Linked DNA regions of Homo sapiens: region 1 is linked to region 2. Evidence: promoter capture Hi-C in human tissues and cell types (Jung and others, 2019). All regions are on one chromosome and are shown on one strand. Each heading gives the region's core, a stretch centred on a gene start or on the middle of the fragment in contact. The rest is flanking DNA. Distances are from core to core; before and after follow the strand shown.

Region 1 (3,101 bases), core at 241-2,740, 790 kb before region 2:
CTGTATTAATGGATTAGCATACACAAAACCTTCAATAAAAATGATGTAAAAGCTTATGAGCATCATTCAGACTTTTACTAGTCACTTTCATTTCATAAAACTGCCATTTCCATTAAAGCATTATGTAAAAAATGGGATTTTACTATACCAACATGCATATTTACCACCAATGAATTTAAACACTGCTTATAAAGTACAGTCAATTTTACAAATGAAATCTCCTTCTAAACTTAGAATTTTTCCTTTTTAGAGATAAAAAAAAATGATGTGTCTCTAGAACCACAGCATACACTTCAAATCATTTTTAATCTTCTATTCCTTATTTCAGATAATGTCTGTAACAAAACCAGGAACTAAGCATCTAAAATGTGAAATGGGAGGTTAAAAAAGTGAAAAAACATGAATTTGGGAGAAACTGGCAATACTCTTTGAAACTGTTACTCTTTTTAATAATGTAAACAATGCCCTTTATGTCCTAGATTATGCATATACTCATCTGTGAACATTTGTGTGAGTTTGCTGAAGATGCTTATGAAACAGCACTAATGAACTGAAAATGAATTCCTTGACATGCTGTAAAAGGTATTTAGATAAAGCTAAACACAGTATAATTTATTTCCTCTACCTTCCCCCAGGACCCACTGTGCTTGGATTTTTGTCATTTTAAATTGTGTTTAAGGCAATAAGAGGTAAGAGTAAGACAGTAAGAGGGGCTAGAATTGATCTGTTTTACAAGGCAAATACAGAGTGCCTGCGATTGCAGGCTCGCGCCGCCACGCCTGACTGGTTTTGGTGGAGACGGGGTTTCGCTGTGTTGGCCAGGCCGGTCTCCAGCCCCTAACCGCAAGTGATCCGCCGGCCTCGGCCTCCCGACGTGCCGGGATTGCAGGCGGAGTCTCGTTCACTCAGTGCTCGGTGGTGCCCAGGCTGGAGTGCAGTGGCGTGATCTCGGCTCGCTACAACCTCCACCTCCCAGCCGCCTGCCTTGGCCTCCCAGAGTGCTGAGATTGCAGCCTCTGCCCGGCCGCCACCCCGTCTGGGAAGTGGGGAGCGTCTCTGCCTGGCCACCCATCGTCTGGGATGTGGGGAGCCCCTCTGCCTGGCTGCCCAGTCTGGGAGGTGAGGAGCGTCTCCGACCGGCCGCCATCCCATCTAGGAGGTGAGGAGCGCCTCTTTCCGGCCGCCATCACATCTAGGAAGTGAGGAGCGTCTCTGCCCGGCCGCCCATCGTCTGAGATGTGGGGAGCGCCTCTGCCCCGCCGCCCCGTCTGGGATGTGAGGAGCGCCTCTGCCCGGCCACGACCCCGTCTGGGAGGTGAGGAGCATCTCTGCCCCACCGCCCCGTCTGAGAGGTGAGGAGACCCTCTGCCCGGCAACCGCCCCGTCTGAGGAGTGGGGAGACCCTCCGCCCGGCGGCTGCCCCGTCTGAGGGGTGGGGAGCCTCTCCGCCCGGCGGCCACCCCGTCTGGGAGGTGGGGGGCGTCTCCGCCCGGCGGCCGCCCCGTCCGGGAGGGAGGTGGGGGGGGTCAGCCCCCCGCCAGGCCAGCAGCCCCATCCGGGAGGGAGGTGGGGGGGTCAGCCCCACGCCCCGCCAGCCGCCCCGTCCAGGAGGGAGGTTGGGGGGTCAGCCCCCCGCCCGGCCAGCCGCCCCGTCAGGGAGGGAGGTGGGGGGTCAGCCCCCCGCCCGGCCAGCCGCCCCGTCCGGGAGGGAGGTCGGGGCGTCAGCCTCCCGCCCGGCCAGCCGCCCCGTCCGGGAGGTGAGGGGCGCCTCTGCCTGGCCGCCCCTACTGGGAAGTGAGGAGCCCCTCTGCCAGGCCAGCCGCCCTATCTGGGAGGGAGGTGGCGGGGTCAGCCCCCCGCCCGGCCAGCTGCCCCGTCCGGGAGGGAGGTGGGGAGGTCAGCCCCCCACCCGGCCAGCCGCCCCATCCGGGAGGTGAGGGGCGCCTCTGCCCGGCCGCCCCTACTGGGAAGTGAGGAGCCCCTCTGCCAGGCCAGCCGCCCTATCTGGGAGGGAGGTGGCGGGGTCAGCCCCCCGCCCGGCCAGCTGCCCCGTCCGGGAGGGAGGTGGGGAGGTCAGCCCCCCGCCCGGCCAGCGGCCCCACCCGGGAGGTGACGGGCGCCTCTGCCCGGCCGCCCCTACTGGGAAGTGAGGAGCCCCTCTGCCTGGCCACCACCCCGTCTGGGAGGTGTGCCCAACAGCTCATTGAGAACGGGCCAGGATGACAATGGCGGCTTTGTGGAATAGAAAGGCGGGAAAGGTGGGGAAAAGATTGAGAAATCGGATGGTTGCCATGTCTGTGTAGAAAGAAGTAGACATGGGAGACTTTTCATTTTGTTCTGTACTAAGAAAACTTCTGCCTTGGGATCCTGTTGATCGGTGACCTTACCCCCAACCCTGTGCTCTCTGAAACATGTGCTGTGTCCACTCAGGGTTAAATGGATTAAGGGCGGTGCAAGATGTGCTTTGTTAAACAGATGCTTGAAGGCAGCATGCTCGTTAAGAGTCATCACCAGTCCCTAATCTCAAGTACCCAGGGACACAAACACTGCGGAAGGCCGCAGGGTCCTCTGCCTAGGAAAACCAGAGACCTTTGTTCACTTGTTTATCTGCTGACCTTCCCTCCACTATTGTCCTATGACCCTGCCAAATCCCCCTCTGTGAGAAACACCCAAGAATTATCAATAAAAAATAAATTAAAAAAAAAAAAAAAAGAAGGCAAATACAATACCAGCAAAAACTTGCATACCATTAAAAGTGAAAGAAGAAATAGTTGCTTTTTACTCTTAATTACAAAAATTGGGCCTTAAGATGTATAAAGTTCTGGTTTGAAGGTCAAAGACCGTCACAATCCAGCACAACATGAAGAGGTCAGGTTCCAGGTGTTGAAAATGTCATAAAAAAATGGCTGAATAAACTTGTCAGGAAACCTAAGAGCATTTTATGGGAAAAGTATTCCATTAAATCTTTAAACAGTCTCCTGATCTACATATGATTTAAATGCTTTTCTGTAATTATTCATTCAAGAGCCATGGAAGAAAAATTAAAACGCTTCCCTTCAGGAAATGTAAATACTATCTTTACAAAAGAATAATTTAAAAGT
Region 2 (2,993 bases), core at 6-2,505:
CTTGCATTCCGAACCACTCGGCTGCTGACCCCAGGCATCTGACTCTGGAATTAATAAGCAAGTTTTATGATGAGGCGGGGAACTCCACGCCATCTGTGCACTAAGGGTGATTCACCAGTGACTTCTGGGTGTTATAGATCAGGAAACACAATTGGGGAATGGACAGGACAAGCTCTGTCATGGACTCTGTGTGGCCTTGGACAAGTGATCTTGCCTTTCTAGCCTCAGTTTCCCCCCTGAGAAGAAGACAGAACTGGCCCCTACCCTGTAGATGGGTTGGAGGAGCACTTGAGATTGGAAAACGCATAATAGGTGTTCATTAAAGAGGCTCACATGGATACACACAAGAACAATCTCAGGGCCTTCACGCACCTAAATGTTCTGCCCCTAGTGTGGGCAAGGGAAACAAACTGGAAGAAGACAAGAAAAGCCACTGAGAGCTGGGGACGGTGCCTCTGTAGCACCTGTGAGTCCCCGAGGAGGAAGTACTACAGGAACCAGCGGGGCCGGGCGTGGGGGCTTGCGGCTGGAATCCCAGCACTGTGGGAGGCCAAGGCAGGCAGATCGCTTGAGCCCAGGAGTTTGAGACCAGCCTGGGCAACACGATGAAACCCCATCTCTACAGAAAATACAAAAATTAGCCGGGCATGGTGGTCTAGGCCTGTGGTCCCAGCTACTAGGGAGGCTGAGAGGTGGGAGGATCGCTGGAGTCCGGAAGGTCGAGGCTGCCGTGAGCCGTGATCACGCCACTGCACTCCAGCCTGGATGACAGAAACCCTGTCTCAAAAACAAACAAAAACACAGAAACCAGATAACCAGCCCCAGCCCCTCACATCATCAGAGTGATGCCACGCCCTGGCATCCCCCTCCACGTGGTGCATGCTCTTTTTTTTATTTTTATTTTCTTCAGTTCTCTGATGCTGATTCAGAAAATAAAAATGTAGAGGTCCAGGTGGGCTGTGCCTGGAACGGGGAAGGTGAGGGAAGTCCTCTGTCTCAAAGGCCTCTTCGGAGGACGCTCTGGTCTTGCCAAGTTTACAGCTCCTCCCTGTCAACATCAAGTCAGGTCCCCAACTCTGTCTTGCTCATCCACCTGGCTTCCACTTTTTTTTTCTTTCAAAAGACGAACAGAGAAGTTTCATTTTCTTTTTCTCCTGAAACCGAATCTGGCCGGCCTGGCTAGGCATCTATTTCCGGGCTGTAAGCAGCTGACACCTGCCCAGTGGAAGCTGGCATCCCTCCCCTTGTGGGTTCAGAGCTGCAAGAAGCACCAGGCTCGGCCACTTCAGAAGCCCCAGCCTCGACCTAGCCCACCCTCTCAGGGCCACAGTGCAGAAGCCTGCACACCTGCCAAGTCTCTCCGACTCCTTGCAGCTGCTGTCAGCATGGCCCAGGCTCCTGCTGACCCGGGCAGAGAAGGTACAGTACTTCTTCCTTCCAAGGACCAGCGGTAGCTCCCGGGGTGAGATTTCTACTTCTCTTTCCTCCTGTTTCGCTTGGTCCAGATCATGATGACAATAGCAGTATCCTAAAGAATAGTAGACCAGCTGGGCGTGGTGGCTCACGCCTGTAATCCCAGCACTTTGGGAGGCGAGGTAGGTGGACTGTTTAAGCTCAGGAGTTTGACACTAGCCTGGCCAACATGGCGAAACCCCATCTCTACTAAAATTACAAAAATTAACCGGGCATGGTGGCGCATGCCTGTGATCCCAGCTACTCGGGATGCTGAGGCTGGAGAATCGCTTGAACCCGGGAGGTGGAAGTTGTAGTGAGCTGAGATGTCGCCATTGCACTCCAGACTGGGTGACAGAGTGAGATTCCATCTCAGAAAAAAAAAAAAAAAATAGAAAGGGACAGCATAGCCATCCCCCTTTGACAGCTGACTGTGCCCCAGGCACCTCGAAACATGCTTTCCAAGCATTTCCTGATGGCCTGCAGGGACAAGTGCCATGTCATTCCCATTTTATAGATAACTGAGGCCCTGAGAGGTGAAATGACACTCTCAGGGTAACACAGCTGGCGAACGCTGGTGTTAGCGTCTGAACACCCATGTCACAGTCATATCGAGAACAAAGCGGTTTGCTTTGATGAGATACATGTGTGCCTTTGTTCCCCCTTGTTGCATCCTTTCCTCAACTAACATTTCATTCATTTTATTCCTGGAAGAGTTGCAATGAAAGCCAATAGTGTATCGAGTAATTGCTGTTCTCTAGGGTCTCCACTAAGCGCTGTGGACTGTAGGTGAAGTGTGGTTTTGCGGTTTGGGGGATGTGTTTGTTTTGTTTTTAATCCTCACCACAATCTTTGAAGTAGTTATTACTGTCTCCATTTCACAGAAGAGGAACCTGAAGCCGGAGGGGAGGTCACACAGCTAGTAGTTGGCAGGGCTAGGAGCTCAAACCCAGGAAATCAGCCATCAGAATTTTAAAAAACCAACACAGAGTGTGCCCCGGGAGGGCTAATGTCAGGGTGTGGCCCAGGAGCCGGGCTGACCGCGGAGGTCCTGTGGAGCTTCCTCTTCGGGGACTCACGGGTGCTGACGCAGGTTCCGGACTCAGCCCTCGCTGGCTTTTCTTGTCTTCCTCCCCAGTTGATTTTCCTTTTGTGACCAAATTGTTGCCTACACCTGCTCCATTTTACAATTTCCCATTTTCAGACACAGTAGCCTGGGACTCAGCAGTCGAGGCCAGCCCAGGGCCAGTGCTTGTCCTGCATCCACACCTCTGACCCCCATCTCCTCTGGGGTGTGTGGAGCCGAGGCAGTGGCTCCCTAAGGTCAGCCTTCCAGAATCAAAACTGCGGCCAGGCGCAGTGGCTCACGCCTGCAATCCCAGCACTTTGGGAGGCTGAGTTGCGGGGATCACCCAAGGTCAGGAGTTTGACACCAGCCTGGCCAAAAAGGGAAACCCTGTCTCTACTAAAAATACAAAAATCAGCCGGGTGTAGTGGTGCGTGCCTGTAATCTCAGCTACTTGAGAGACTGAGGCAAGAGA

Evidence for each region. The method cuts DNA at HindIII sites, captures the fragments that hold promoters and counts their contacts. A contact is called where the count stands out against the background at its distance.
Region 1: a fragment that was not itself captured here is called in contact with the fragment with the promoter of ZBP1 in region 2 in 1 of the 25 tissues and cell types used here (spleen).

What each region holds. Positions count from the first base shown.
Region 1 is chr20:58,412,751-58,415,851 of GRCh38, reverse strand. The region is part of intron 1 of VAPB (VAMP associated protein B and C); the gene reads right to left. Among named protein-coding and RNA genes, the nearest start is that of VAPB, 25 kb to the right of the region's middle. RefSeq lists enhancers at 1,174-1,963, 1,964-2,755. The HindIII fragment of the contact is 4,477 bases long and covers 1-3,101 here.
Region 2 is chr20:57,618,688-57,621,680 of GRCh38, reverse strand. ZBP1 (Z-DNA binding protein 1) reads left to right here and starts at 1,255. Exons shown (of 8, transcript NM_030776.3): 1 at 1,255-1,419. The coding sequence starts at 1,386. RefSeq lists enhancers at 1,006-1,295, 1,426-1,475, 2,556-2,665, 2,843-2,993. The HindIII fragment of the contact is 12,502 bases long and covers 1-2,993 here.